Linked DNA regions of Homo sapiens: region 1 is linked to region 2. Evidence: promoter capture Hi-C in human tissues and cell types (Jung and others, 2019). All regions are on one chromosome and are shown on one strand. Each heading gives the region's core, a stretch centred on a gene start or on the middle of the fragment in contact. The rest is flanking DNA. Distances are from core to core; before and after follow the strand shown. Region 1 overlaps SLC8A3 (solute carrier family 8 member A3). Region 2 holds the start of SLC8A3 (solute carrier family 8 member A3).

Region 1 (2,831 bases), core at 200-2,699, 38 kb before region 2:
GTACTCTGACTTTCTATCTTTAGATCAACTGTTTCTTCCTAAAAGCTAATCCCGGGATTGGGGAGGGAATACAATTACTGCTGGGGGAACCTGAGCAAAACGCTGGCCCAGATAGGTCAAATGGCTGTGACATGTCCAGGATACTAATTACTTAACTAAAAACTAGTACATCATACCCCTGGTGAGGAATTTAGACTAGGCACTATGCTAAACGTTTTATATTGCATAATTGTATTCAATCCTCACAATAACCCTATAAGGTAGGTGCTATTATTAGCCATGTTATGTAAATGAGTAAAATGAAAGGTTAGATAACTTCCTCTAGTTCAGGTCACCAACAAGTAGCTGGGACTCCAAATCAGCCTGTCTGATAACAAGGCCACATATTTAATCATGCTGCTCTATTACCCCCTGTGTATATATGGGCTTCCACTCACATCGCTGCTTTCACACTTCTGTTATTGGTGATTTTATTGTGGCAATGATGAGGCAAACTTCTGTCTTGAACTCATCAAGACAGTGATAGGATCATCAAGCAGTGATAGGAGGGTAGGAGGCAAACCCGGACATGAACTCAATGCCTCCTACCCTCCCATCACCGCTGCTCTCCTCTTGTCACAGACAGCCATAGCTTGGCTGCCCTTAGGTTGGCCTTGACATCTTCAGCTGTGCCCCAGCCAGGCCTGCCTCTCTTTGCAGAGGAAAGCAGGTAACATGCCTGCATTTTGGGATAAGCAGGTAACACACCTGTAGCTCAGGACAAGCTTTAAGGCACCGAGGAACTCCAGAGGGAAAGGGGATTTGGAGAATAGGCCCTTTTTTGTCTCCCTAGTCACAAAATGACTCTTAACTATACAGTGGGTCCTTGTTTTCCATGGCCTAGAGTTCAGCCATCGAAAAGGTCAAAAAGCAGAAATGAGCAATGCAGTTCATGGCTGCCCCTGCCTAGGCTGGAACTTCTGGGCAGTTGTTTAAGAACTATCTGGCCAGGCGCGGTAGCTCATGCCTGTAATCCCCGCACTTTGAGAGGCTGAGGTGGGTGGATCACGAGGTCAGGAGTTCAAGACCAGCCTGGCCAACATGGTGAAACCCCACCTCTGCTAAAAGTACAAAAAATTGGCCAGGCATGGTGGCAGGTGCCTGTAATCCCAGCTACTCAGGTGGCTGAGGCAGGAGACTTGCTTGAACCTGGGAGGCAGAGGTGGCAGTGAGCCGAGATCGTGCCACTGCACTCCAGCCCAGGCGACAGTGCGAGACTCCGCCTCAAAAAAAGAAAAAAAAAAAAAAAGAACTATCAAGGAACCAGGGCTATGGAGATTGGAAGATAGAAGAGGAGGCCATTATAACAGCTGTAATGAAGTAACAAAACAGATTGGGGTATGTGGCTTAGAGAAAGTGGCCATTTATTTTTCAACCCTCATCTACTTGCAAACAGGAATTCAAAAGGTTTACAATTGGAACCCCTATATAACAAAGTTGTTGAATGAGCTCTGGCCTACTCCTGCCTTGAGAGCTGTGGGTCAGCGTCCTGAGGGCAAGTAGCACAGAGGTCGCTCTTCTATCAGTCCTTTGGACATAATTGTGAGGCCCTTGACTTGCTATGGAATGCTGGAGTAGGCATTGTGCAGGTTGTATGTATTAGTTTCCTATGGCTGCTGTGACAAATCGCCACAAACGTGGTAGCTTAAAACAGTAGAAATGTATTCTCCCCAACAGGTCTGGAGGCTAGAAGTCCAAAATCAAGGTATCAGCAGGACTGATTCCTTCTAGAGGTCCGAGAGGAGAATCTGTTCCATGCCTTCCTCCAAGCTTCTGGTGTTTCCTAGCAATCCTTGGAGTTCCTTGGGTGCCTCACTCCATTCTTTGTCTTTGTCATCACATGGCCTTCTTGTAAGGATACCAGTCATAGGATCTAGGGCCCATTCTAATCTAGTATAACCTCATCATAACTATTAATGGTTACACCTGCAAAAGCCCTATTCCCAAATAAGGTAGTATCCTGTGGTTTGGAGTAGACATACATTTGGGAGGAGGAAGGACACTATTCAACCCAGTACAGCTTGCCAATGGCATTTTGGGCAGATCTCACATAAAAGAAATGAAAGAATTTGGGTTCCTCAAAAGGAGGACTCGAGTAAACCTGGGCTACTGGTTTCCAGTGGCGTGGGCAGTGGGAAGCAACACCTCCCTGAGCAGTATTCATGTCAGACTACATTGCACAGAAATGAAGCCCAAAGGAGCAAAGAAAGTCATGCAGAGAATTAAGGCAACTTCCCCCAAAACTCAGAAAGAGCAGGCACACTTCCCACATCCCGCCAACACCTCCACCAATTCATGAGCATCTTACCAGAGAAATCTTAACCAGAGAAATTGGAGCATCTTAACAGAGAAATGTGAACATCTTACCTGAGAAATTCAAATGATGAATTTGCAGGGGAAGTGTGCCACTCTGTCAATCAATCTTATACCCTCTCCCCACAAGACAACATAGAAAACAGGCAAACAACAACAACAACAAAACAACAACAACAAGTTCAGTCTTTTTTTTTTTCCCTCTCCCTTCTAACCCCCAGGAGGGCTGGAAAGACCAAGGGATTTAGCCATGAGAAGAAAGGGGAGCTCTCTCAGCCTCCTACACACCCAAGAAAAATCCTGGGCAGACAGATCTGTATGGCAAAGAGCAGTGCAGGACCAAGAGAGCCCTCAGTTCCCCCAGAGTGGGCCCGTTCTGTCAGTGAGGACTCATTTCAGAGGCATTCGGAAAAGTGCTGTGCAGAACTGCGTCCAATCTGGGCTAAGCAGATTAGTTTCCTCCCAGGGAAAGGTTCTGG
Region 2 (3,015 bases), core at 158-2,657:
AGGTCAGCCAGGGCCTGTAGGAGCAGCAGCGCTAGCCTCTGAATCAGGGCTTTGACTGTGTGTGTGTGTGTGTGTGTGTGTGTGTGTGTGTGTGTGTCCGCGCGCGCGTGTGTGTTGGGGGATCGGGGGAGGGTTAGTTATATATTTCGATTCTCTCCACCGAGTCCCGGATCACGCAGACCACCAGGGGCTGGAGAGTGCAGCACTGGAGAAACCCTCCTTCTCCCTCGCCCCCTTGGCCCCAGCGGTGGGTGCTCTGGGGCTGCAGCTCCCGACCCGCGGCGGTGGAGTCCCGAGATTGGGGTGAGCGCGTGCGTGCGTATGTGCACGCGGGCGCGCGCCGAGTGGATAACGCGCTTCCCTGCTAGCCCCCAAACCCGGCGGACACTCACAGCACCAGAAGCACAACACGCCCTGGCCCAGGTGGCACACATATGCCGACATGCATCCAGCACACACAACACAGCAGTCAGTCTCCCCAAACAGCACCCGCTACCAACCCAGCATGCTCACGATCCAACTGTACCCACCTGCCCAGGCATCTCTCTCTGCCCCTCCCCACCCGGCGGCACCCTCCTGTAGACACCCACTCTGCCAGATCTGCCCCCCCAACACTGCATACACAATGTACACTTTCCGGGGCACCCTCACCCCACTTCTCCTGGCACTAAATCCACAGGAAGGCGGTTCATATGAATGATCTTGAGAAATAACTTAACCCCGTTACTCACAATCAGGGATCCTCTTAGGGGCATCCCAAGCCCCCCAACCTCTACCTCCCATGTCTCGGCTGCCCGCTAAGGGGGAAGGGCAGGAGGCTCACCCCATTACTCACCGTTTCCTCTCGGCCTCCCGAGCGGAGTGGGCAAGGGAGGGGGGTGAGGAAGGTACGCGATGCCCCCGCCGCCCGGCGCCTCACCGGTCGCAGCGGCTCATCGCCCCCGCGGGCTGCCCGCCGGCCGCAGCCGCGTCCGGGGCATGTCAGTCCGCCGCCGCCGCCCTCCCGCCGGGGTTCGTGGGCTCGCAGCTGTCAGGGAGCTGCGGGGCAGCGCATCTGGAGCGCGGGGTCTGGGAGGGAGGGTGTCTGGGGCCAGGGCGAGGGGCCCCGGGAGGGGTCCTTCCGCACGGATTTCAGAAAGAGGGAAACCCCGACCCAGAGCGGTGACTGGAATCTACGCCCGGGAGAGGCCCGGAGTCCCGGCCGCGGGCGGCGGGGGATTCCTGCAGGAAGGGGCAGGAAGGCAAGCAGCCCGGCGCGCCCTGGCGGCTCCGAGGGACCTGGGCTCGGGCTTGCGGTCGCGTCGCCTGGGCTTTCCCTGGGCTGGGAGCGCGCCGGGTCTCCGCCTTGCACGCTGTCACCGCGGGAGACGTCTCGGCCTCGCCGCGCGCAGAGGGGACGCGCGGAGAGGCTGGTTTCTGGGCGAGCGGAGAGCTTTGCCCATTAAGCTGCCGGAAGAAGCCAAATCAAAAAGCCAATCTCCAAGCCTCCAAACGGAACGTCACCCTATCAGCTGGGAGACAGCGCCGCACTGACTGACAAGCCGCGCATATTTATCCTCGCGCGCGGAGGGGAGACTCTCAGAACGCTCCTCGACCAGCAGCGAGGAAGTCGAGCCCGCATCCCGCATCCCGCATCCCGCATCCAGAGCCCCCGAGGGACGAATTCAGATCCAACCCCTGCCCCGCGGCCACCCACCCTAGTCGTTGGAGCCTGGCGCCCGCGCCTCCCGGCCGGCAGCACGTCAAAACGGCGGCGCGTCCTGACCTGGATTCCGCCGAGTTGGGAGCTCCAGGCAGCAGGCGGGCGCGCGGCACCGGCTTTCCCCTTGTCCTCAGGAGACGCTGCCTGCAATTCCGAAATTAAGTCTCCACCAAACACATCTGTGGTTTTTAAATATAGCAGGGAACTATTACCCAGGCAGGGTCCACCCAGGCCTAGGGGAGGAGTTGAGGGGGATGGAGATTGGCAGCGGAGGGAAAAGAAAACTCCTTTTTTCCCCCTCTTTTTTTCTTCTCTTCTTGGTGCAGAACCCAGCCTGTCATTTTCTCAACCCAAGTCAAACAACAGTTTGTGAGAGACGCTTGGGTGAGCTCTGGTATGTTGGCTTTTCGGGTTTCTAAAGCTAAAAATAAGAGGGGGCTGCCTCCCAAATTGCTGCTTACTCTGGGCCTGGAGGCTGGAAGAGAGCTGGTCCTTTGATGCAGCAGCGGGACTAGGGCTTGGGGCTTGGCTCAGGCGAAGTGTACACACGTAGCCTTAAATCAGATGCCTGTAATTTCTGCTATATTTGTCAGGCTTGGTCCTAGAGGCATGCGGGGTGGGCAAGCCACTCCTAAGAATGGGGTTTCAAGCCCTCAGCTTATCGGTGGCATTAGGCAGATCTAAAATGAGCCTGGTGGCTGGCCTTCTGTAGCGACACCAGTGCAGAAAAGTCAGAATGTAAGGGCAGGAAGTTGTTCTCTTTCAGGCCTCTCTGCTGCCTGAGGCTAAGTGTGAGGGGCCAACAAATGATAATAATACTTACCAAATAGCAGCACCTTTTAAGGGCCAGGAGTGGTGCTAGTGAATTTGATTGTATTACCTCATGCCATCCTACTAAAACTCTGTGAGCTAGGTACAATTACCAACTCCATTTTTTTGTTGAGGAAATTGAGCCTTAGGTTAAATAACCATCCCAAGGCCACGTGCAGCAGAGCCAAGGATTGAAATAAAATGCAACCAACCGGAGTTGTGCTGAGACGTCAACAGTGTGTGTGACTCCTGAGATCCCTGGCTCCTTTGCCCGGCTGCTCTGGAGCAAGGCTTGGTTCAAACAGATTAAGGGGGTGTAGAGACTAGGGAATCTCTAAGCCTGAGATGGCAGGAGGTCTTTGCTGGTCCTTTGACTCAGTGTTCCGTTAGCAAGCTGTGTGGTGGTTTCTGGCCTGAGTCCGGAGTCAGAATCCTGGATGTGCTCAGTAGGAGCAGTAGGAGTGCTTTCAGACCCCTGAACCTTTATGGGTCTTGAATTTCAT

Evidence for each region. Contacts are between HindIII fragments. The study calls those that stand out against the background at their distance.
Region 1: a fragment that was not itself captured here is called in contact with the fragment with the promoter of SLC8A3 in region 2 in 1 of the 25 tissues and cell types used here (ovary).

What each region holds. Positions count from the first base shown.
Region 1 is chr14:70,149,989-70,152,819 of GRCh38, forward strand. The region is part of intron 2 of SLC8A3 (solute carrier family 8 member A3); the gene reads right to left. Among named protein-coding and RNA genes, the nearest start is that of SLC8A3, 38 kb to the right of the region's middle. The HindIII fragment of the contact is 4,599 bases long and covers 1-2,831 here.
Region 2 is chr14:70,187,544-70,190,558 of GRCh38, forward strand. It overlaps SLC8A3 (solute carrier family 8 member A3), which reads right to left and starts at 1,408. Exons shown (of 7, transcript NM_182932.3): 1 at 836-1,408. It also overlaps the pseudogene LOC646548. RefSeq lists silencers at 843-982, 1,053-1,382. The HindIII fragment of the contact is 13,926 bases long and covers 1-3,015 here.